Regions from separate parts of the Homo sapiens genome. Here regions 2, 3, 4, 5, 6 and 7 are each linked to region 1. The links are contacts of gene promoters, found by promoter capture Hi-C in human tissues and cell types (Jung and others, 2019). All regions are on one chromosome and are shown on one strand. Each heading gives the region's core, a stretch centred on a gene start or on the middle of the fragment in contact. The rest is flanking DNA. Distances are from core to core; before and after follow the strand shown.

Evidence for each region. Contacts are between HindIII fragments. The study calls those that stand out against the background at their distance.
Region 2: a fragment that was not itself captured here is called in contact with the fragment with the promoter of AP1M1 in region 1 in 1 of the 25 tissues and cell types used here (dorsolateral prefrontal cortex).
Region 3: a contact is called between a fragment that was not itself captured here and the fragment with the promoter of AP1M1 in region 1, in 1 of the 25 tissues and cell types used here (pancreas).
Region 4: a fragment that was not itself captured here is called in contact with the fragment with the promoter of AP1M1 in region 1 in 3 of the 25 tissues and cell types used here (IMR-90 fibroblasts, dorsolateral prefrontal cortex and heart left ventricle).
Region 5: the fragment with the promoter of OR7A17 here is called in contact with the fragment with the promoter of AP1M1 in region 1 in 1 of the 25 tissues and cell types used here (H1 embryonic stem cells).
Region 6: a contact is called between the fragment with the promoter of DNAJB1 here and the fragment with the promoter of AP1M1 in region 1, in 1 of the 25 tissues and cell types used here (mesenchymal stem cells).
Region 7: a contact is called between the fragment with the promoter of OR1I1 here and the fragment with the promoter of AP1M1 in region 1, in 4 of the 25 tissues and cell types used here (dorsolateral prefrontal cortex, lymphoblastoid cells, mesenchymal stem cells and 1 more).

What each region holds. Positions count from the first base shown.
Region 1 is chr19:16,196,507-16,199,887 of GRCh38, forward strand. It overlaps AP1M1 (adaptor related protein complex 1 subunit mu 1), which reads left to right and starts at 1,405. Exons shown (of 12, transcript NM_032493.4): 1 at 1,405-1,562. The coding sequence starts at 1,521. RefSeq lists a silencer at 1,549-1,788. The HindIII fragment of the contact is 7,648 bases long and covers 1-3,381 here.
Region 2 is chr19:15,119,455-15,122,845 of GRCh38, forward strand. HACL2 (2-hydroxyacyl-CoA lyase 2) reads right to left here. Exons shown (of 16, transcript NM_006844.5): 6 at 3,239-3,350; 7 at 528-627; 8 at 1-61. Among named protein-coding and RNA genes, the nearest start is that of ILVBL-AS1, 3.0 kb to the right of the region's middle. The HindIII fragment of the contact is 6,371 bases long and covers 1-3,391 here.
Region 3 is chr19:14,710,134-14,713,348 of GRCh38, forward strand. The region is part of intron 7 of ZNF333 (zinc finger protein 333); the gene reads left to right. Among named protein-coding and RNA genes, the nearest start is that of ZNF333, 22 kb to the left of the region's middle. The HindIII fragment of the contact is 7,816 bases long and covers 1-3,215 here.
Region 4 is chr19:15,101,236-15,104,873 of GRCh38, forward strand. No RefSeq gene overlaps it. Among named protein-coding and RNA genes, the nearest start is that of SYDE1, 4.3 kb to the right of the region's middle. The HindIII fragment of the contact is 6,045 bases long and covers 1-3,638 here.
Region 5 is chr19:14,884,496-14,888,143 of GRCh38, forward strand. OR7A17 (olfactory receptor family 7 subfamily A member 17) reads right to left here and starts at 1,637. Exons shown (of 3, transcript NM_030901.2): 1 at 1,446-1,637. It also overlaps the pseudogene OR7A18P. The HindIII fragment of the contact is 7,391 bases long and covers 1-3,460 here.
Region 6 is chr19:14,516,342-14,519,778 of GRCh38, forward strand. It overlaps DNAJB1 (DnaJ heat shock protein family (Hsp40) member B1), which reads right to left and starts at 2,056. Exons shown (of 3, transcript NM_006145.3): 1 at 1,798-2,056; 2 at 125-705. The coding sequence starts at 2,008. RefSeq lists silencers at 1,338-1,907, 2,118-2,437 and an enhancer at 3,350-3,437. The HindIII fragment of the contact is 14,493 bases long and covers 1-3,437 here.
Region 7 is chr19:15,080,927-15,084,566 of GRCh38, forward strand. It overlaps OR1I1 (olfactory receptor family 1 subfamily I member 1), which reads left to right and starts at 1,285. Exons shown (of 2, transcript NM_001004713.2): 1 at 1,285-1,350. The HindIII fragment of the contact is 16,029 bases long and covers 1-3,640 here.

The sequences.
Region 1 (3,381 bases), core at 155-2,654:
TAAAGCTTGTTTAATCCTAAAAGGGTCCTGTTAAGAATTCCTTCATTATCTTGTCATGCTTCAAGGCCCAGGAAAGGCCTAGGCACAACTCTGGGTGGGCTTTTGTTACATCCCAGCCTTTGTATAAGGGCACTGGCTCTCTTATCTTTTAATATTTAACTTAACCCTTGTAATCCCAGCACTTTGGGAGGCCGAGGTGGGTGGATCACGTGAGGTCAGGAGTTTGAGACAAGCCTGGCCAACATGGTGAAACCACGTCTCTACTAAAAATACAAAAATTAGCTAGGTGTGGTGGCACATGCCTGTAATCCCAGCCACTTGAGAGGCTGACACACAAGAGAATCACTTGAACCCAGGAGGCAGAGGTTGCAGTGAGCCGAGATCATGCCATTGCACTCCAGCCTGGGTGACAGAGTGAGACTCCATCTCAAAAAAAAAAAAAAAAAAAAAAGCAAACAACAAAAACCCTCTCTTGGCTGCTTGCTCTGTGCCTTGAGCAAGAATCCTTCCAGCCCAGGAGTCACTTAGCAGTCTTCAAACATTCTAGTTTGCTTCTCTAGAGTTTCGGTCACATTTCTTTCCTAAGCAAAACACTATATAATTACCGAGTTGCAAAAATCATCTTTCCAAACGCCAAAACGGAGATAAGACAGAAAATAAAAGATGTGAGAGGCAGGCATCCTGGGTAAATCACTCTGGTATTGCAGGGTTGGGATCCCCAGGGTACTATGATGGCTAACTGGAACAGAATGCAGGCATTTCTCCAAAGCCCAAGAGTTCATAAAAGCAAATTAAATATGACTCAATGGATTAATCAAGGGCCACCAGTTGCATTACTGATTACTAACTTTGCAGAAATGAAACACGGTATGTTGGGTCAAGGTTCAGTGAGGCTGGTTTTCATAACATTCCAGGCAATAAACAGGCACACTCATTCATTGATAAATGTTGACAATGACAGGTGGTGACTGTTGATAAGGTTTGATTGCCATTCAGAAAGTTTGTTTGACCTCTTTCCAAGTAACCACGACCTTACCTCTCTCTTTTGAGCTTATCACAATTGGTGACTGTACACTTGTTTCATAGACTTCCCCACCAGACTGTGAGCTCCATAGGGCTGGGCCCCAGGTCGGTTTCACCACCAGGCTCTCTCGCCTAACTCGGCCCACGGGAGGCCGTTTCCAGCTGCTCTGGCTCCATAGCTCAGCCTGGCAGCGGCCACTGGGTGCCCTGATTTGGTCGGCCCCGCCCCACCGGGCCTTACTTCCGGGATGCTTCTGGCGGGAGCAAGAAACATGGTTACATACGACGTAATGCGCCTGCGCACAGTCCGTCCTGCGCCTGCGCATTCCTGACAGCACCTCCCGGACCGGACATAACGGTCCCCGCGCGGCTCCCCGAACCGGAAGTGGAGGTGAGCTGTCGCGGGCGGCGCCCGGCCTTGCTCAACGCCCAGCAGTCCCCACCGTCGCTGCCGCCGCCACCGCCCTCGGCCGCTGCCGAGGCCTCCTGCAGCCATCATGTCCGCCAGCGCCGTCTACGTGCTGGACCTGAAGGGCAAGGTACTGAGGGCTCCCCACCCTCCCTGTTGCCAGGCAACCGGCAGGGGCCTCCGCCCGCGGGGACCCACCCTGTTGCTAGGTAACCGGCTTATGAGCCCCATCCTGGTGTGAGGCAGAGAGGCCGGTAGACCTCACCTGAGAGCCCCATCCTGTTTCTGGGTAACCGGGCGGGGGTCTTAAGTGGGTAATCCCCGCCCTGTTGCTACGTAACGCGGTGGGCTGCAGCCACCGCGTTGCCAGGTAACTGACTGCACCGCCCTCTGCTCCCCGGCGCCGGGGCCGGGGGCTCGGGCCTCGGTGGAGGACCCAGAAGCGGGGCCGCAGCCGGCCTCGGAGCCAGGCAGGGCGTCCAGGGGCTGCGCGACCCTTGGCCGGGGGTGGCGAGGCGTGGCGGGGACTGGGTGCTCTCGAGCCAGTCCCGCCTTCTCAGGGCGTTACAGCTTCTGTTTATCGTGCACTTTCTCTCAGTAGGAATTTCTCCACGTTCATTGTGATAGTGAGTTACAAGGATTAGGTGAGGTGAGTGGTGATCACGAGTGCCGTTTTATAGAGGGAGAAACTGAGGCATGGAGAGGTGAAGCAACCTGACCAAGGTCACAATGGTCACAGAGAAGTAGCAAGTCTAGGAGTCCGATCCAGAATCATTCGTTTATTCAGCTGATATCTGGGGAGCACCTACTAATGCCGGGCAGGGTACTAAGCCTGGGGTCGATTTGTGTTTAGCAAAAAACAGTCCCTTTTTTTTTGTTTTGTTTTTGAGATAGTGTCATGCTCAGTCGTCCAGTCTGGAGTGTAGTGGTGCAATCTCCACTCACTGCAACCTCCGCCTCCCGGGTTCAAGCAATTTTCCTGCCTCAGCCTCCCAAGTAGCTGGGATTACAGGCACCTGCCACTACGCCGAGCTAAATTTTGTATTTTTAGTAGAGGCAGGGTTTCACCATGTTGACCAGGCTGGTCTCGAACTCTTGACCTCGAGTGATCCACCTGTCTTAGCCTCCCAAAGTGCTGGGATTACAGGTGTGAGTCATGTGCCAGGGCTCAACAATCTGTGTTCTTACGGTGTTCACAGGCTGGTAGGGGAGATGGATACCCATCTCCAAAAACACAAATAAATGTCAATTGCAGTGGTGTTGAGGGGCGAGTGTGTTATACAGACAGTCAGCCTCAGCCCGAGGATGAGAGAGGGTTTCCCTGAGGAGGGGTGACAAATGGACCAGAGACACCAGGGAGCTGGACATAAACTAGAACCCAGGCATCTTCCCCAGAGGATCTGAGAAAACTTTAAGAAGGGATTGTCCCCACCTTTTAGAAATGGTCCTCTGCCTTCTCCTAAGTCCATCCCAGGTGCAAGGCAGGTGGCTGCCTGGCCTGTTGCATGTGGAAGCAACAAGAACCGGTCCAACAATGTGAAGCCCAACATTGATCAGTGAGAGAAACAAACATGGGTGTCAGGTCCTAGGTGAGGCGGGCAGGGGTGAGCCCTAAAGCAGCTGAGAGTGAAGAGGTGAAATGGCTGCCCCTTCCCGCCCCACCCCACCCCCAGCACTTTCCTGAAGTCCCTTGAGTGGGTGCCTGCTCTGGAAGCCACCCAAAGTCAACAACTGGTGAGACCCAGTGCTGGGCTTCCCTCCCCCGCCTTCTTGGAAGGAGGGAAGACACCCGTCTTAGAGCACGCCAGGGGCTGGGTGGTGCGGTGGAATGAGTCCTGGTGGAATGAGTCTTGCTTCCACCCTGGCCACTGCCTCCCCAGAGGTGCCAGTGGGCTGCCTGTCTTGGCTTGCTTATTCCTTCAGCAAACATTTCATGAGCACCTAGCATG
Region 2 (3,391 bases), core at 105-2,604, 1.1 Mb before region 1:
GACTCCCCAGCACCATCAGAGGCCTCTTGGCCCGGCTCAGGATCTCCACACAGCGCTGAACCTGGAGCGAGAGGTGGGGATCAAAGGGCTGTCTTTTTATTTATTTATTTTTTTGAGACACAGTTTCACTCTGTTGCCCAGGATAGAGTGTAATGGCATGATCTCAGCTCACTGCAGCCTCCACCTCCCAGGTTCAAACGATTCTCCCGCCTCAGCCTCCAGAGTAGCTGGGATTACAGGCGCGTGCCACCATGCCTGGCTAACTTTTGTATTTTCAGTAGAGACAGGGTTTCACCATGTTGGCCAGGCTAGTCTTGAACTCCTGGCCTCAAGTGATCCGCCTGCCTCGGCCTCCCTAAGTGTTGGGATTGCTGCTGTGAGCCACCGCGTCCAGCCAAAGGGCCGCCCTTGAGTCGCCATGAGCACCCAAGATTAAGGCCCCAGTACTGACTCAGGGAGAGGGTCAGGGGGCCCTCTCCCCTCAGGGAGAGGGTAGGGTCCTCAGACACAAAAGAGAGGCAATTCACCTGCTGCGGGGAAGCCTGGGGGATGTCCAGGGGCAGCGGTCCCTCGGGCTGAGGCTCCCAGGCTCCTGCAAAGAGGTTGGCCAGGTAATTCTCTAAATACCTGCAAAAGGGAGGGGGAAGAAACCAAGTTGCCAGAATTAACTAACTACAAGGATTCCAGGATCTGAGCAAGGAAAGGGGCCGGGAGAAAAGCCAGGAGCAAAGTGGCATGGGGACAGGGTGGATGAGTGACACCTCAGGGACAGACGAACCCTAGTGGCCAGGTCTTCAACTGCCTGTTTGCCCTCGGTAGCCTCTGGGGTCCACCCCAACTCCACGTAGCCCCCCAGAAGCAAGGAACGCAGGCTCAGCATGCCAGGATTAAGCCTGTGGGTCCAACAGATGTGAGCTCAAGTCCTGGCTCTGTCACTTCCTAGCTGTGCAACTTAGGGCAAGTGACTTCACCCTTCTGAGCTTCCACCTCTGTCAATGTAAATATGAACCTCCCTCCCCAGGTTCAAGGATCTGTCCACTTAGGACATGAGGCGCTTTGCATGGGAGTTCTGAACACTGTCCTCTCCTGCTTCAAACAGGGTCTTCTCGGTCTCCTTGCTCACTGGGCCCCAGGGCCCCAACTTTCCTGAAGGACCTGTGCAGGGCCCTGGAGACACAAAGATAGATCCTGCCCAGCCCTCCCCTCAGGGGGCGCTCTATCCAGCGAAAGACAGACACATGGGCATTGGCAGGAAACAGTCGGAGCTCAGAGTCAGAAGCCTCTGCTTTCACCGTTAAGGACAGGCCAAGACAGCACAGAAGCAGCCCAGGATGGAACCGTGGGAAGCCCCGCAAGTAAAGAAAAGGCAAGGGAGGCTGAGGCAGGAGGATTGCTCGAGGCCAGGAGTTCAAGGCTGTGGTGAGCTATGATCATACCACTGCACTCCAGCCTGGGTGATAGAGTGAGGCCCTGTCTCAAAACAAAACAAAACAAAAAAGGCAAGATAAGAGATAGCCTTGTGAGAGGCAGCCCAAGAGAGAGGGGCAAGGAGAACAAGGGGAGGGACTGACTGGGAAGCCAGGGGGCAAAGTGCATTAAGAATGAGGCTATATGACCAAAATGGTGAAACCTCATCTCTACTAAAAATACAAAAATTAGCTGGGTATGGTGGACTGCACCTGTATTCCCAGCTACTCCGGGGGCTGAGGCAGGAGAATCACTTGAACCCGGGAGGTGGAGGTTGCAGTGAGCCAAGATCGCACTACTGCGCTCCAACCTGGGGGACAAAGCGAGACTCCGTCTCAAAAAAAATAAAGAGGCCATAGAACAAAATCACTACTGCCTGAGCTGACCCTCAGGCGCTTCACACACATCCGGAGTACAGGAGCCTGACTACCTTGTCCACTGATGATGCCCCGTGCCTGTCCTGGAACCTGGCACATGGCTGCCGCTCGCTAAATGTATGGAAAGGAAGGGCCAAGGACAGGCAAAGGGAAGGGACTGAGGGGAAGGGAGAGAAGGAGGAAGAAGAGGAAGAGGAGGAGGAGAAGAAAGGAAAGGAAGAAGAAGAAGAGAAGAGGCCAGGCGCAGTGGCTCATGTCTGTAATGTTTGAGAGGCCGAGGAGGGTGGATCACTTGAGGTTAAGAGTTCAAGACCAGCCTGGCCAACATGATGAAACCTCGTCTCTACTAAAAATACAAGTATTAGCCAGGTGTGGTGGCGGGCGCCTGTAGTCCCAGCTACTCAGAAGGCTGAGGCAGGAAAATCACTTGAACCCAGGGGGAGGCGGAGGTTGCAGTGAGCCGAGATCACGCCACTGCACTCAAGCCTAGGCAACAGAACGAAGAATCTGTTTCAAAAAAAAAAAAAAAGAAAGAAAAGGACAAAGATGTGAGGGAAGGAAAGGAGGAGGAAGGAGAGGGCTCGAGTCTGGGCTCTGCCACTTTTTTTTTTTTTTTTGAGACGGAGTCTTGCTCTGTCACCCAGGCTGGAGTGCAGTAGCACGATCTTGGCTCACTGCAAGCTCCACCTCCTGGGTTCACGCCATTCTCCTGCCGCAGCCTCCCAAGTAGCTGGGACTACAGGCGCCCGCCACCACGCCCGGCTAATTTTTTTTTTTTTTGTATTTTTAGTAGAGATGGGGTTTCACCATGTTAGCCAGGATGGTCTCGATCTCCTGACCTCGTGATCTGCCCACCTCGGCCTCCCAATGTGCTGGGATTACAAGTGAGAGCCACCGCACCCGGCCTGGGCTCTGCCACTTCTTAGCTGTGTGACTTTGGGCAAGTGACTTCACCTTTCTGAGCTTCCTCCTCTGTAAATGTAAGAATGAACCTCCCTTCCGAGGTTCAAGGATCATCCTTTAGGAGGAGGAAAACGGAGAGGACGATGGGAAAGGTGGTGGGGGAAAGGGAGGAGAAGAGGAAGGAAGAGGGAGGAGGAAGAGGAGGAAGAAGAGATGATGGAGGAGGAGAAGAAAGGGAAAAGGAGGAGGAGGAGGGCTGTCCTGAGCCTCTCCCCTTTGCTGCCTCCACGAGGGCCGCCTTGCTTTCCCTACCCACCCAGTTCATTCCTGCCTCAGGACCTTTGCACATGCTGTTCCTTCTACCTGGAATGCTCTCCCCCCAGCTGTCTCCTCCCAGTCCACATGTGAATCAAAGGAGGATGGGTGTGGGCTGGAAGCTGCAGGAGAGAACGGGGGATAAAGGAGGGAATGGCAGGGGTGGGGCTATTCACCAGGAGACCACTCGGCCCACGAGGCCCTTGGGTGGCTTGGCTGGCACCATCTCCTTCTGGACCATGAAGTAGGGGTACAGCACGTCAACGGGCAGCTCCACAAACACCGGACCTGCAGGGACAGGGAGGACGCTGAGTCCATAACATGTCCCC
Region 3 (3,215 bases), core at 561-3,060, 1.5 Mb before region 1:
TTCCAGATTGTTCAGGGCTTGGAAGTGCAGGAAAAGAACCTTGGCCCATGTTCTAAGCCCGCTGGGAGCCAGTGACGTGTTTAGGTGAGTGGTGCAATGCACCTGTGGTTTTAACAGAACCGCACCCCCCAGCCCACCTGTGAGGAGCGTGGGCTCAGGGAGGAAAGCAGTGGTAGGTGGAGGCCATTAGGAGTAGAATGGTGCTGGTCTAGACTTGGGGGTTGAGTGTGGAGGAGGTGTGCTGGGTTCCCCCAAGACCACCCCAGTCTTGATGATCCACTAGGAGGACTCACAGGAGATGTCGTACTCGTGGCTGTGATTTATTACCAGAAGTGGATATGAAGCAGAATCAGCAAAGGGGGTGCCAGGTGTGGTGGCTCATGCCTGTAATCCCAGCACTTTGGGAGGCCAAGGTGGGTAGATCACTTGAGGCTGGGAGTTTGAGACCAGCCTGGCCAACATGGCGAAACCCTGTCTCTACTAAAAATGTAAAAATTAGCCGAGCATGGTGGTGCATGTCTGTAATCCCAGCTACTTGGGAGGTTGAGGCAGGAGAATTGCTTGAACCCGGAAGGCGGAGGTTGCAGTGAACCAAGATTGCGCCACTGCACTCCAGCCTGGGCGACAGAGTGAGATTTCCTTCTTAAAAAATAAAAAAATAAATAAAAGTAAATAAAAGAAGTGTATCTGACTCATGGTTCTGTGGGCTGTACAAGAAGCACGGCACCAACATCTGCTCCTGGCGAGGGCCTCAGGCTGCTTCCACTTAGGTCAGAAGGGGAAGGGAAGCCAGTGTGCGGAGATCACATGGTGAGGGAGGAAGCAGGAGCGGGGGCAGTGGGGGAGGGAAGGGAAGGGAAGGGGGAAAGGTGCCAGGCTCTTTTTAACAACCAGCTTCCTTGGAAAGTAGTAGAAGAGTACTCCTTCTCTCTGAGGGAGAGCGTTAATCAATTCTTGAGGGATCTGCCCCCAAGTCCCGCCTCCGACACTGGGGATTAACGTTTTGGTGTGAGTTTTGGAGGAAACAAACAGTCCCTAAATTCCAGACTTTCAGAAGGAAAGCAGGTGTTCAACATAAACTGCATTGTTTGTACAAGCAGTTTAAGTGGAGCGAGTTTCTCTTACCAGTTAGGGGGGCGGGAACCTTCCTGAAATCCAAGTTCCCAGACTCCACCCAAGGGCCAACCTTGCAAACACATCTCATTAAGGAGCCCATCCAGGCCTGCTGGGTTAACGCCTTTCTGCACAGTAGGGAAGTGAGGAATGATTTAAAACACATAGAGGCCAGCACTTTGGGAGGCTGAGGTGGGAGGACTTCTTGAGGCCAGGAGTTGGAGACCAGCCTGGGCAACATAGCGAGACCCCATCTCTACAAAATAAGAAAATTAGCCAGGCATGGTTGTGTGCACCTGTGGTCTCGCTACTCAGGAGGCTGAGGAGGGAGAATCACTTGAGCCCAGGAATTGAAGGCTGCAGTGAGCTAGTCCAGCCTGGGTGAGAGAGCAAGACCCTGTCTCAAAAAAATTATAGTAATAATGCATATAAAACATTTATATTGAGGAGGTTGAGTTGATTTGGTGGTTCATGTATTCATTTACCAATGACATGGAGCATTTTTGTGCCAAGTAAGGTATCGGGGACAGGATGGTGAAAGGCACCCAGGCTTATTCTTACAAAGCTTCCAATCCAGTGAGGATGACAGAAAAGAAACACTCATGGCAGCAATACATAGCTGGTTACAGATGGGTAAGGGCTGCGAAGAAAGGGAAGGGGTCCTATCAGAGAAAAGGAGAGAAGGGGCTCTTTCTACAGGGGAGGAGACCTCAGGATGGGGCACTCTGAGGGCGACGTTTCAGTGGATCCAAAAAGAAAAGGCTCTATGTAGGTGTTGGCTGTAGCGGGAATGGGTGGGAGAGGGGCTTGGGGGTGAGTACCGCCATGTAGAGACGTCATCACTATTTATTCTGATTAGTTGCTGGGATCTGTAGAGTGTCAGAGAGGGGTGAGATTTCTGATCAAAGACAGGGGCAGCACTTCCTGAGATTGAGGACATGGTTAGGGAGAGCAGGCTTTGGGAGGACGGTGATGAGTGTTTTTTTTTTTTAAGACATAGTCTTGCTCCGTTGCCCAGGCTGGAGTGCAGTGGTGCAATCTTGGCTCACTGCAAACTCCATCTCCTAGGTTCACGTGATTCTCGTGCCTCAGCCTCCCGAGTGGCTGGGACTACAGATGTGTGCCACCACGCCCAGCTAATTTTTGTATTTTTAGTAGAGACGGGGTTTCGTCATGTTGGCCAGGCTGGTCTCAAACTCCTGACCTCAAATGATAATGCTGGCCTCTGCCTCCCAAAGTGCTGGGATTACAGGTGTGAGCCACTGTGCCTGGCCTAGTTTTTTTGTAACAGAAATTTCTCTTTCACAATTTAGGATACCAAAAGTCCGAAATTAAGGTGTCGACAGGGCCGTGCTCCCTCTGATGGCTCGGGGGGGAGGATCCTGCCACCTGCTTTCTAACAGTGGCCTGCAGCCCTTGGTGCTCCTTGGCTTGTGGATGCAGCCCTCCCGTCTCTGCCTGTGTTGCCTCATGGCTGTGTCACCTCTGTGTATCTGTCTCTGTCTCTTCTGTTAGGAGAACCATCATATTGGATTAAGGGCCTACCCTATTCTCCTGTCGTCTCAACTCATTACATCTGCAACAATCCTATTTCCAAATAAGGTCACATTTTGAAGTACTGGGGGTTAGGACTTCTCTTTTTTGGGGGGTTCACAGTTCAAACCATAGCAGTCTGTTCTCTAGTCCCCCCAAATTCATGTCCTTTCCACATGCAAAATACACTCACGTGGTCCCAAAGTTTTAATCCATTCCAGCGTCAACTCTAAGTGCAAAATCTCATCTAAGCACCATCAACTCAAAGTTTCATCTCATCTGATGAGAATCCCACAACTCTTCATGTCAGTCATCTACAGCAGGTATGAGGGAGACTCAGAGTGTGGTCCATTGTGGGGCAAAATTCCTCTCCATCTGCGAACCTGTGAGAAATCAGAAAGCAAGTGATCTGCTTCCAAAATACGGTGATGGGGCAAGCAAAGGATAGACATTCCCATTTCAAAAGGAGAAAAAGGGGTCATGGGTCCTGAGCAAGTTTAAAACCCATCAGGGCAAATGCTATGAGGTTTCCAGGCCTGGAACAAATCCTCTATGGTTGGAAGCTCTGA
Region 4 (3,638 bases), core at 639-3,138, 1.1 Mb before region 1:
TCTCCTGGAAGATGCCAGATAGACGCAAGCCTCAGGTGTGGAAACAAATGGGAATGACCACAGCGGGTGGAGGAAGCTTGGGTCCTGCTCCCCAAAACCTTCTCTATCTCCCATCCCCCAGGAACTGAGCACCCCAGGGAGCTGGTAGAATGGAGATGTAGCCCCACAGAACCACGCCCCATGCCCATAGCCTTGAAAACAGCCTAATTTATTATTCCCTTTGCACATGAAACAGAGGCCTAGACAGAATGTCTGTGTTTGGAGTCCACCAGAAGCCAACCTTGAGACAAGGATTCAAGTATTTAGGAAATAAACAGGAAATACTGTAAGTGGGGTGGATATGTGGGAGAGGGAAGGGAAGGAAGTCAGCAAAGAGTGTATTGATAACCAGGTTTCTACAGTGGACAGCTGGAGCTCAATCCCGTGGGTGAACACTAGGGGTCAGTGTAGAACATGAACCTCAATCATCCAACACAAGGGTGAGGGAGCTGGGGTATTTATCCATCAATTCCCCTTGACTACCACAGAGGTGCTGAGCTCTGCCCAAAACTGACAGGAAATGGTCTTTTGGTCTTTCAACTAATTGGTCTATATGTGTCTGGGGCTGGTTAATCCACCAGGTACCAAAAGCACAGCACATCAGACCTGCAGCCAATGAGAACATTTAGGGGAAAGAAAACACACACGTGGCCAGGTGCAGTGGCTCACACCTGTAATCCCAGCACTTTGAGAGGCCAAGGAAGAAGGATCGCTTGAGGTCAGGAGTTTGAGACCAGCCTGGGCAACATAGCAAGATCCTGTCTCTACAAAAAAAATTTAAAAGCTAGCTGGGTATGGCAGTGCATGCCTATAGGCCTAGCCACTCAGGAGGCTGAGGCAAGAGGATTGCTTGAACCCAGAAGTTCAAGTCTGCAGTGAGCTATGATCACACCAATGCACACCAGCTTGGGTGACAGAGGGAGATTATGTCTCTAAAAATAATAAGGCCAAGCACGGTGGCTCACACCTGTAATCCCAGCCACTTGGGGGGCCAAAGTGGGAAGATCACTTGAGCCCAGAAGTTTGAGAACAGTCTAGGCAACATGATGAGACCCTATCTCCACAAAAAAATAGAAAAATCAGCCTGTGGCATGGTGGCACATGCCTGTAGTTCCAGTTGCTTGGGAGGCTGAGGCAGGAACATCACTTGAGCCTAGGAGGTTGAGGGTGCAGTGAGTTGTGGTAGTGCCACTGCACTACAGCCTGAGCAACAGAGCAAGAAAAATAAATAAAATAATAATAATAAAGTAAATAAAAATAACATGAAAATAATTTTTAAAAAATTTGAGACAGAGTCTTAGTCACCCAGGCTGGAGTGCAGTGGCACGATCTTGGCTCACTCCAACCTCTACCCTCTGGGTTCAAGCGATTCCCCTGCCTCAGCCTCCCGAGTAGCTGGGATTACAGGTGCCTGCCACCATGCCTAGCTAATTTTTATATTTTTAGTAGAAACGGGGTTTCACCATCTTGGCCAGGCTAGTCTTGAACTCCTGACCTCGTGATCCACCCGCCTCAGCCTCCCAAAGTGCTGGGATTACAGGCATGAGCCACAGTGCCCGGCCATGAAAATAAATTTTTTTAAAAGAAAAGAAAATGGGCCAGGCACGGTGGCTGACCCCTGTAATCTCAGCTCTTTGGGAGGCCAAGGTGGATGGATCACAAGGTCAGGAAATCGAGACCATCCTGGCCAACATGGTGAAACCCCATCTCTACTAAAAATATAAAAATTAGCTGCACGTGGTGGTGTGTGCCTGTAATCCCAGCTACTCAGGAGGCTGAGGCAGCAGCATCGCTTAAACCAGGGAGTCACAGGTTGCAGTAAGCCAAGATCGTGCCACTGCACTCCAGCCTGGGCAACAAAGCAAGACTATGTCTCTATAAAAGAAAAGAAAAGAAAATGTACGCATACAGGCTCTAAAATCTGTACAGCAACTAGCAAAATCCACAGGAATAAGCATACAAACATCATTATGAAACTTAGAATTCATAACCATTTCATTACATACAATTTGCAGATAATCTGTTCTCACTTATGGAAATTTCTGATTGCTAAGAAAGAATCAGAGCCAATGGTGAATTAAATAGGCTACATGCAGGCAAATAAAGACAACAGGAAAAGTACAAAAACTCAAAAAGATTTACACAAAATAATAATAATAAATATTTATGTGGTATGTGGGTGTCATATGGGTGGGGCTAAGGGTTGCTCTCACTCCCATGTCAGACCCCAGCTCCTCTGAGACTCTGAAATACCCCATTGGGACCTTAGTCCTGCAGCCTCTACCCTCAACTTGTAAACAGGTATTGTCTTGACCCCTGACTTCTTTCCCCATTGTCAATAGCTGCCTCAAAGACATCTGCGCAGGGATCTCATAGGGAGGAGGGTGCACTCCACCCTTTTACAGACTGATGCCCCCCAAACACACATATCCAAGAAAAGTGAACAGCACCTAGGAGAACTGTATATCAACAGTTGTATAATGAGTATACCAATATATGCATAATGAGAGTCCCAGAAGGAGAGAAGTGAAAGGAGCAGAAAGAATATTTGATGAGGCTGGGTATGGTGGTTCATGCCTATAATCCCAGCACTTTGGGAGGCCAAGGTGGGCAGATCACTTAAGGTCAGAAATTTGAGACCGGCCTGGCCAACATGACGAAAACCCATCTCTACTAAAAATACAAAAATTAGCTGGGCATGGTGACAGGCACCTGTAACCCCACCTACTTGAGAGGTTGAGGCAGGAGAATCACTTGAACCCAGAAAGCAGAGGTTGCAGTGAGCCAAGACCATGCCTCTGCACTCCAGCCTGGGCAACAGAGTGAGACTCCATCTCAAAAAATAATAATAATAATATTTGATGAAATAATGGCCAAAAAACTTCCCAGAAGCCCAGAATTGATGAAAGACATGAATCTACATATCCACAAAGCTCAACAAACTCCAAGTACAATAAACACAGAGAACCACACAAAGACACATTAAAACCAAACACACACAGCCTCCTCGTCCAGGCCTCTTGGACACCCCCTCCTATACAGACCTCCATCACCTGACACCTGATCTCCTACCTGAATATTCAGCAGTGAACAACATAGACAAGCATCACTTGATCACTTGGTGGAGACCCAGTCTGGACGAGGAGGCAGATAAACTAGAACAAACCACTGGGACTGTTAAATTCAAGTTGTGGCAAGTGTTAGAAGAAAGGAAACTGAGTAATGTGATACTGACTAGACAGAGGTGGTGGACAGAAAGGGTCTCCCTAGAAGGTGCCATTGGACCTAAAGGATGAGAGAGAGGTGGCCTCAGAAGAACCAGGGCTTCCCAGGCAGAAGGAACCATGTGTGCAAAGGACCTGAGGCAGAAATAGCTTGATATGAAGGAGAACCAGAAAGGAGGCCATGGTGAGTGAATGGGACAGCCAAAGAGATGAGGCTGGAAGTCTTGTGAGACCATGCTGGGAATCTGAATTTTATTCTAGGTGAGGTGAGCAGTCATAGGAACACTATTCAGCAGGATGGTGCCACAATCTGATTTCAGTTTTAAGTCCACTGTGGGTAATATATGGAGAATGAAATGTAGGGCTAAGACAGGT
Region 5 (3,648 bases), core at 387-2,886, 1.3 Mb before region 1:
TCTATGCAAATAAGCTAGAAAATCTAGAAGAAATGGATAAATTCCTGGACACATACACCCTCTCAAGACTAAACCAGGAAGAAGTCAAATCCCTAAATAGACCAATAACAAGTTCTGAAATTGAGGCAGTAATTAATAGCCTACCAACCAAAAAGAGGCCCAGGACCAGTCAGTTTCACAGCTGAATTCTGCCGGAGGTACAGAGAGGACCTGGTATCACTCCTTCTGAAACGATTTCAAACAATGGAAAAAGAGGGACTCCTCCCCAGCTCAATTTATGAGGCCAGCATCATCCTGATACCAAAACCTGGCAGAGACACAACAAAAAAAGAGAAAATTTCAGGCCAATATCCCTGATGAACATCAATGTGAAAATCCTCAGTAAAATACTGGCAAACTGAATCCAGCAGCACATCAAAAAGCTTATCCAGCATCATCAAGTCGGCTTCATCCCTGGGATGCCAGGCTGGTTCAACATATGCAAATCAATAAATGTAATCCATCACATAAATAGAACCAATGACAAAAACTACATGATTATCTCAATAGATGCAGAAAAGTCCTCCGATAAAATTCAACTCCCCTTCATGCTAAAAACTCTCAGTAAACTAGGTATTGATGGAACATAACTCAAAATAATCAGAGCTATTTATGACATACCCACAGCCAATATCATACTGAATAGGCAAAAGCTGGAAGCATTCCCTTTGAAAACTGGCACAAGACAAGTGTGCCCTCTCTCACCACTCCTATTCAACATAGTGTTGGAAGTTCTGGCCAGGGCAATCAGGCAAGAGAAGGAAGTAAAGGGTATTCAAATACAAAGAGAGGAAGTCAAATTGTCTCTGTTTGCAGATGACATGATTGTATATTTAGGAAACCCCATCGTCTCAGCCCAAAATCTCCTTAAGCTGATAAGCAACTTCAGCAAAATCTCAGGATACAAAATCAATGTGCAAAAATCACAAGCATTCCTATACAGCAATAATAGACAGAGAGCCAAATCATGAGTGAACTCCCATTCACAATTGCTACAAAGAGAATAAAATACCTAGGAATATAACCTACAAGGGATGTGAAGGACTTCTTCAAGGAGAACTACAAACCACAGCTCAAGGAAATAAGAGAGGACACAAACAAATGGAAAAACATTCCATGCTCATGGAAAGGAAGAATCAATATCTTGAAAATGGCCATACTGCCCAAAGTAATTTATAGATTCAATGCTATCCCCATCAAGCTAACATTGACTTTCTTTACAGAGTTACAAAAACTACTTTAAATTTCATATAGAACCAAAAAATAGCCCGTATAGCCAAGACATTTCTAAGCAAAAGGAACAAAGCTGGAGGAAATGATTGGCTCTCAGGTGACCTCAGGTTAATATTCACGGCTCTTGTTCTTCCTGACCTTTCCTACAGTACCCACTGGGCTCTGGGACTTACCCTACTGAGTTTTCTGAAAGGAAGGTCTCCATGGAGAAGTGTAAATTCCTCTCTAGCAGGTTGATGGTGGAGATGGAATCTCTGTCTCAAGACAAGGCATCAGGAAAAGTTGAAGCATCATCTATACTTGAGCCAGACTAAGGACTCCAAATGAAACCACCATGTCATTTCCAGCCCAAGGTTGCATATGCTGAGGGACTGCAGCAGAGGAGATATTTATGGCTTCGTATATCTGCTGATTAGATACCTTTCCTCCTGTTATTCCAACTCTGAACACATCAGTTTCCTGGGGGACGTTGCCCTGCACTGAAACAAATGTCATTGTTGTTTTTTTTTTCTGTATCGTCTATTCCCAAGACACTATGTTAAAAGTGAGGTGTATCCAGGCTTTATTACTCCTTCCCCGTGGACTTCCTTGGCTTCCAGAGTCCCATTCTCCTAGCACCTTCTCCCAGCCTTCAGTGAAAATTTCCTCCAAAGTCTAAACTGAGGAACCTGTCTTGACTAGGTCCCTTGAGTCTCCAAAGCACTGGCTTGTGATGGAAACTCAGCTCTTGACATATCCAGAAAATGGCAATTTACCTTTGCAAGGAGATGAACTGTGTTCTGTTCATATAAAACCATGGGTACTACATTTCTTGGCTTCATGTTGCTTTTGCCAAAACATTAGAATTTCATATATATATTTTTTTGAGATGGAGTCTTGTTGTATCACCTGAGCTGGAGTGCAAAAACATTAGCCGGGTGTGGTGGCAGTTGCCTGTAATCCCAGCTATGCAGGAGGCTGAGGCAGGAGAATTGCTTGAACCCGGGAGGTGGAGGTTGCAGTGAGCCAATATGGCGCCATTTCTCTCCAGCCTGGGTAATAAGAACAAAACTCCATCTCACTAAAAAAAAAAAAAAAAGTGTTAGAACAGGCAAGCAGGATCAACTGATTAAGTTCACAGAAAAAAATGGGGGGATTTCCAAGTTTGTGCAGAAGGACAGCTGCAACACATTCTGCTTTGCAGTGAGGAATTCAGGGCACTCATGCTCCAGGACACCAGAACCCACAGTCCAAAGATCCCAGGATTCATGATGACCCTGTAGTGCAGGGGGTGACAGATGGCCACAAAGTGGTCATAGGCCATCACAGTCTGCAGAAATACATTCATCCCTGCAAAGAGTAGGAAAAGTTTGTGATTCTGGAAAAGTTTCTTGGGAAAGGACATGCCTTGCTTCTCGGAGACAGAAATTTGTGATCATGAAGGGACACCTGCTTCCAGGGGTCCACACGGGGAGGAGATTGCATGAGTGTCCTTCCACGTCTGCTTTATTATACTCAGGGACATCTTCTCTGTCCTCCTCTGCCTGGCTCCAAAAATTCACATTAAAAATGTTTAGACTCCTTTTATTTTATTTTATGTTCTGGGGTACATATGCAGGATGTGCAGGTTTGCTACATAGGTAAACGTGTGCCATGGTGGTTTGCTGCACCTATCAATCCATCACCTAGGTATTAAGCCCCACAGGCATTAGCTAGTTTTCCTAAGGTTCTCCCTCCCCCCCACCCCACCCCCCAACAGGGCTCAGTGTGTGTTGTTCCCCTCCTTATGTCTATATGTTCTCATTGATCAGGTCCCACTTATAAGTGAGTGCATGTGGTATTTGATTTTCTGTTTCTGCGTTAGTTTGCTGAGGGTAATGGCTTCCAGCTTCATCCACGTTCCTGCAAAAGACATGAACTTGTTCCTTTTTATGGCTGCATAGTATTTCATGGGGTATATGTACCACATTTTCTTTATCCAGTCTATCACTGGTGGGCATTTGGGTTGATTCTATGTCTTTGACATGAACAGACACTTCTCAAAAGAAGACATTCCTGTGGCCAACAAACATATGAAAAAAAGCTCAATATCATTGATCATTATAGAAATGCAAATCAAAACCACAATGAGATACCATCTCATGCCAGTCAGAATGGCAATGATTAAAAAGTCAAGAAACAGATGCTGGCAAGGTTGCAGAGAAATAAGAATGTTTTTACACTGTTAGTGGGAATGCAAATTAGTTCAACCAGTGTGGAAGACAGTGTAGTGATTCCTCAAAGATCTAGAACCAGAAATACCATTTGATCCAGCAATGCCACTACTGGGTAAATATCCAAAGGAATAGAAATCATTCTATTACCAAGATACATGCATGAGTATGTTCATTTTTAGAC
Region 6 (3,437 bases), core at 806-3,305, 1.7 Mb before region 1:
GTTCACTGTTGTGCCCCAAGCCTGGCACGCACCACACACCCCAACACATTGGTTCAGCAAATACTAAACTGCTTCAAAAAGCAGCCATCGCCCTCTACAGACACCGCCCCACCTGGCACCTTACCTCCCGGAGGCTGATCCTGGCAGGATAAATGACATCAGAGCCATCTCTCTTAAAGATATTGTGGGGCTTGTCCTTTAAAACAAAGACGATATCAGCTGGAATGTTGTTGGAGGTCTGGTCTCCTTCCTTGGGGAAAGTGATTTTGGTTCCTTCTTTCCACCCCTTCTTCACTTCGATGGTCAATATTTTGTCTTCGTTTCGAATGCTCTTTCCGTCGGGGTTTAGCCGCTTGTGGGAGATTTTCATCTTCTTGGTACAGCCGCTGTAGATCTCTTCAAGGGAGACTCGAAGGTCGTGGGTGACTGGGGGATCTTGCTTCTTTCGGGCGGGCTCTTGGGCAGAGCGGGAGCGGCCAAAGTTCACGTTGGTGAAGCCACCCATGCCCATAGGGAAGCCAGAGAATGGGTCATCAATGTCCATGCCTTCCTCCCCGTTCCGCTGCCCAAAAAAGGTGTCAAAGGGATTTCTGCCACCGAAGAACTCAGCAAACATGGCATGAGGGTCTCCATGGAATGTGTAGCTGAAAGAGGTACCATTGGCACCACCGCCGCTACCGCCACTGGGGCCACTCCCCTTTAGGCCTGAAAAGCAGATTTAGAAGCAGTCAGATGGCTGAACAGCAGACTCTCTCTCGAGCTTCCCTTACAGGGGGAAACAGCTTGGAAGCCATGGGGGAGGAACTTTTTTGTCTGTCAGGGGAGAGCAAGGAAGAACCCCAAGTTTCTACCTCTCACTGCCAACAGCAGAGACGCCCCCCTACCAACAGTATTTCCGCGTAGCCTGACAGTGGAAAAGGACTCATGCGGTTAGGTGTTCACCTCCAGGTGCCACCTAGGCCCTGCCACTCCTGGACTGACCCATCCTCCTGGCAACATCACCAAGAGATGGCTAAAGACACATGGTCCAGGGTCGGCTTTCGGTAAGTGTTTACTCTCAACGTTTTAGGGCTAATGGTGCGTAGGAAGAGAAGAAAAAAAAAAACAAAAATAAATAGGGAGTTTTTAAATCCTCACACATTAGCATTCACTGCCACCATCCTTGCACAAAAAGTCAGCTCCAGATCAAGCCCAGAAGCCAGCCTGAATCATCAACGGGCACAGGAACAAAAAGCCCTGCTCTCCTTACCCTCCGAGGCGGCCCCGCTCTCCGGACCTGGGCGGCCGCTGCCTCCTGCGTGCCCTGCCGGGGCCAGGTCATCACTTCCCGGGAATTATCCCAACCCAGCCCCCAAGCCCACGAACGGGGTCGGCTCCTGCATTCACAACCCCTCGCCCCGCAGCTGAGCCGGAGGCGCCGCCCCGCGGACCCCGGCGGCCGAGCCCAGGTGAGCCCGGGTCCGCAGCGGGCTCCGCCGCGCCGTCCCCGTCGTCACCCCCGGCTCCCCCACCCCCATGCACCGCACCCCGGGGCTGCTCGGGGCCGCGGGAGGAGGCGCCCGGGGAGGGGCAGCCCCAGACATGCTAGAAGCTTCTGGCCGAGCGGCTGGGCCAAGGCTCCTCCTCCCACCGCGCGGCCGCCAATCCGAGGGCGGAGGCCCGCGAGGCCGGAGGGCGGGGCAGCTCGGCCCCACGGCCCGGGGCGTCCTTCCCGGGGGGCCGCCGAGAGGGGCCAGCGTGCCTCAGTTTCCCTGTCTGTCAAAAGGCGGGGCCGCGCCCCTGGCCGCGAGCACACACCTTCCTCCCCGTAGCGGTCGAAGATCTCGCGCTTGCGCGGGTCGCTGAGCACGTCGTAGGCCTCAGCGATCTCCTTGAACTTCTCCTCGGCGCCGGGCTCCTTGTTCTTGTCCGGGTGGTAGCGCAGCGCCTGGCGGCGGTAGGCCCGCTTGATCTCCTCGTCCGACGCGCCGCGGGCCAGGCCCAACGTCTGGTAGTAGTCTTTACCCATGACCCCCTCCTGCGGCCCGCCGACCCGCTGTCGCCGTCCCCCGGCTCCGCCGCCGACCAGTCCCGGACTCTATATACCCGTCCGGCGGAAGCTTCCAGAGCCCGCCAGCCCCCTCCAGAACCTTCCGCCCCGCCCGCCCCCGCGGCGCCGGCCAATCGCCGCCGCCCTTTCAGCGACACGCGACATCCGGGGCGGGGCCTCGCCGTCAACGGCCGCCCGCGCGGGGCCACGCCCCCTCCCGCTCCGCCCTCGGCAACACCTCCCCGCGGCGCGCGCGCACAGGTCGGAGGAGGCCCCGCCCACCTTTCGGGACGAGCCAATCGCGACCTTCTTTCCCTCTCTACGCGGCCCCAGCTACCCTGCGTCCCGCCCTCCGCCTGGGTCAGTAGGTCGGGACCCACAGCGAACTTGCTGTTCCAGGAAGGGGTGGGGCCTGGGACTACCCAGTCCTTTCCCCGGGAGGCGATGAACCTGCTCGCCCTTGTCTCGTGGGGCCTGCGGTGGGCTCCCGCCCGGTGACGCCGGACGAACTACCTAACCTGTGTCTGCCTAACCCAGGGGCCCCCTTCTATCTACAACATGGCAATAAGAGAACCTATCAGGCCGGGCGCGGAGCCTCATGCCTGTAATCCCATCACTTCCTGAGGCCAAGACAGGAGGATCTCTTGAGCCTAGGAGTTGGAGACCAGCCTAGGCAACATAAGGAGACTCCGTTTCTATTTAAGATTAACAAACAGGCCGGGCGCGGTGGCTCACGCCTGTAATCCCAGCATTTTGGGAGGCCGAGGCGGGCGGATCACTTGAGGTCAGGAGTTCGAGACCAGCCTGGCCAACATGGTGAAACCCCATCTCTGCTAAAAATATAAAAATTACCCGGGCGTTGGTGGCACGAACCTGTAATCCCAGCTACTCAGGAGATTGAGGCCTGAGAATAGCTTGAATCGGGGAGGCGGAGGTTGCAGTGAGCCGAGATCCGGCCGTTGCACTCCAGCCTCGGCAACAGAGCGAGACTCCGTCTCATAAATAAATAAAATAAGTAAAATAAAGTAAAATGAACAAAAAACCCACCAGCGCTATTCTCCCAACCGTGGGGAGAAGGATTTTGGGACGGAAGACTGCCTCTGTTCTCACCTCCTAAAGCAAGGTGAGGATCTGGACGGAAGCGCATCTCCCAAGGTCCTCCCAGTCCCGCCTTCTTCCCTTTACTGCCCTCTCAAGATCACTTGCCGCTAAATTTGAAATTTATCTTGTCTCTTGGCTTTCAATGTGTCTTCCCTCCCAGTCTGACATCGCCACCTGGGCAGGGGCCAGGTCCTGTCTGCACTGGGTCCCCAGTGCCTGGAACGCAGTGAGAACCTCATAAATATTCCCCGTTCTTACACACGTGCTTCTTTTTCTTCCCCAACTACCTTTATAATTTGGGGGGACA
Region 7 (3,640 bases), core at 35-2,534, 1.1 Mb before region 1:
AAAAAATAATGACAGTGGGATTGGCACCTACTCATATCCCCATATGTCCAACGCGAAGTTGGTCTACCTTGTTCTTGCTTTGAAGCTGACCTCCCCACAGAGTTACGATCCAAGAGCCAACAGTCCAACAGCCAATATTATTAGGGAAAGTAATTCTAATATTTACTAAAGCCCCTAGGAGAATTTCAACAAGTATCCTACACACGTTCTGTGTGGCTGATAGGAAGGATTTTTTTTTTAAGAGACAGGGTCTCACTCCGTTGTCCAGGTTGGAATGCAGTGGTGCGATCACAGCTCACTGCAGCCTCAACCTCCAGGGCTCAAGTGATCCTCCCACCTCAGCCTCCTGGGTAACTGAGACCACGGGCATGTGCCACCAATCCTGGCTAATTTTTTTAAATTTTTTGTAGATATAAGGTCTTGCTGTTTTGCCCAAGCTGGTCTCAAACTTCTAGGCTCAAGGGATTCTCCAACCTTGGCCTCCCAAGTAGCTAGGATTATAGGCATGAGCCACCGTGTCCAACTCCAGTGCCAAGCAGGTGATCAAGAAGTGTTTGATAGGCCGGGTACAGTGGCTCAGGCCTGTAATCCCAGCACTTTGGGAGACCGAGGAGAGCAGATCACTTGAGGTTTGAGATCAGTCTTTCCAACATGGTGAAACCCTGTCTCTACTAAAAATACAAAGACTAGCTGGGCATGGTGGTGGGCACCAGTAATTCCAGCTACTCAAGAGGCTGAGGAGGGAGAATTGCTAGAACCCAGGAGGTGGAGGTTGCAGTGAGCCGAGATTGCTCCACTGTGCTCCAGGCTGGGTGAAAGAGTGACACTCCATCTCAAAAAAAAGTGTTTGATAAATTTATTTATTTAATACCGATTTATTGATTGATTGATACTCTTCGGAGCTTTCCTTAATGAGCCAGTTTCTTCCATAATGCAATGAATGAAAGGACCTCTCAGATTCAGGCATCTGAGTGCCCGACTGGAGTCTGGGACCCCCCAGACCTCTCTGCCTGGGAGCTTCCATGAAGCTCAGCCTGAGCTGGAAGGAGACCGTAGGGAGATGTCCTAGTGAGAGTGAATCCCTAGTCACTGTTTCCTCTTCTTACCCACTCGATGATCCCAAAGCACACCCATCTCCAAAAGAACAGGTCACATGTGGCAGAGGAGAAACAAAATAATTAGCATCCGCTTCCTTAACAAGGAGCTATGGGGACGAAGTCTCCTAGAGTCCCCAGACTATAAATACCCTGATGTTCCCCTGGCTCCCCCACTCACCTGCAGAGTCTGGGGGCGGGGGGGTACACATATGAATCCTTCCCATAGACATCAGGCTAACCCCAGCGATCACAGGTGAGTAGCCCCCATGCCCTTCCTAGGGGTTTAGTGCTGACCTCGGGATCCTCTAGCAGTTGGTGGAGAAGGAGGCTTCCCGGGACCCTCCCCTTGGTGATGCCATCCTGGTGAGCAGGTGAGGGATGGGGAAAGGATTGAGCTGAGGGTGGGGGTGGAGGGTTGTGGGAGAGGAATCTGTCTCCTTCCTAGAGGCCGAGAGAGAGAGAAGAGACTGAGACCAAGTCTAGACTCTCTGAGTGGACAAAGCACGCAGACGGCAGACCCTCTGTGGCAGGATATGTGGAGGAAAAGCACTGAGGGTCTGCAGCTGCAGGACACCTGCACAGATAGGAGAGGTCTTGAGAAACAAGTTTCTCCAATGCAGCAGCTCCCCAAGTGTGGTCCCTGGGCTAGAAGCACCAGCATCCTCTGGAAACTATCTAGAAGTGCTGGTTCTTACACCAGACATTTCAGGGAAAGGGCTTAGCTTTTTGTGTATGATGAGTTTGGGAGCGGGGGGGAGGGGGCGGGGGGATTGTTTTGTTTGTTTGTTTGTTCTTTCTGTTTTTGAGACAGGGTCTCGCTCTGTTGCCCAGTCTGGAGTGCAGTGGCATTATCATAGCTCATCGCAGCCTCGACCTCCCAAGCTCAAGTGATCCTCCCTCCTCAGCCTCCCGGGTACCTGGGATAACAGACATATACCACCATGCCTGGCTAATTTTATTTTCGTAGAGGCAGGGATCTTCCTATGTTGCCCAGGATGGTCTCACACTCCCGGGCTCAAGAGATCCTCCTACCTTGGCCCCCCAAGCAGCTGGGACTAACAGGTGTGTGCCACCATGTCCAGCTAATTTTTTATTTTGTAGAGATGGGGGTCTCACTGTGTTGCCCAGGTTGGTCTCTAACTCCTGGACTCAAGGGATTCTCCCACCTCAGCCTTCTGAGTAGCTGGGACTATGGAAGCATGCCACCATGCCCAGCAGATTGTTTTATTTTTTGTAGATCCAGGGCGGGATTGGGGGTGGGGTGGCCTCACTTTGTCTGCCAGGCTGGTCTTGAACTCCTGGCCTCAAGCAATTCTCCCACTTCAGCCTCCCAAAGTGCTGGGATTACAGGTGTGAGCCACCATGCCTGGCCCGCTTTTTGTGTTTTAACAAGCCTTCCAGGTGACCCTGAAGCGTGCTCAAGGTTGAGAACCGCTGCTCTATGCAACCCAAGTCAACAACTGAGGACTGTTACAAATATGTTGCCAGGAAGGGAATCGCAGTATTCTATCCAGCCTAGAGAAAACCAAGCATTGCATTGCAAAAACCTCAAGTCCAACACTAAAAAGCCTCAAAAAGTTAACATAGGGCTTTGCTGAAGGCCTCTTGGGGTTACCAAGGAGATTATGCTGCTAACCTTCCTAAAAACCCCTTTCATCGGCTGGGCGCTGAAATGATGAGATTACTGGGCTCACGCCTGTAATCTCAGTACTTTGGGAGGCCAAGGTGGGCGGATCACCGGGTCAGGAGTTCAAGACCAGCCTGGCCAACAGGCTTAGTAGAGGCGAAACCCCGTCTCTACTAAAAATACAAAAATTAATCGGGCGTGGTGATGCACACCTGTAATCCCAGCTATTCGGGTGGCTGAGGCACAAGAATCACTTGAACCCAGGAGACGGATGTTGCAGTGAGCCGAGATCGTGCCACTGTACTCTAGCCTAGGTGACAGAGTGAGACTCTGTCTCGAAAAGAAACACGTGTAAATGCTTGTAATTGAATATTTTTCCCTTGCACGTGTTGACAGCACAGAATTTAGCTTCGAAATGCCTCATAAAGAGGTGAGAGTGGCCATTCTTAGGGAGGCAGTGGAGTATGAGAGTGAAAATAAGTCTAAATTCAAAGGCGAGATCAGGCACTTGCAAGCTGAGTGCCCCTGGCAGCTCGCTCAGCCCCAGTCTGCTCACTGTAAATTGTAGCTAACACAATCTCCCTGTGGGAGTTATTGTAAGACCTATGCATTAAGAAACTGGCTCCTGGCTGGCTGCAGTGGCTCACGCCTGTAATCCCAGCACTTTGAGAGATCAAGCCGGGCAGATGATGAGGTCAGGAGTTCAAGACCAGTCTGACAAACATGGTGAAACCCCATCTCTACTAAAAATACAAAAATTAGCCATGCGTGGTGGTGCTCGCCTGTCATCCCAGCTACTCAGGAGGCTGAGGCAGGAGAATCTTTTGAACCCAGGAGGCGGGGGTTGCAGTGAGCCAAGATCGCGCCACTGCACTCCAGCTTGGGTGACAGAGTAAGACTCCATCTCAAAAAAGAA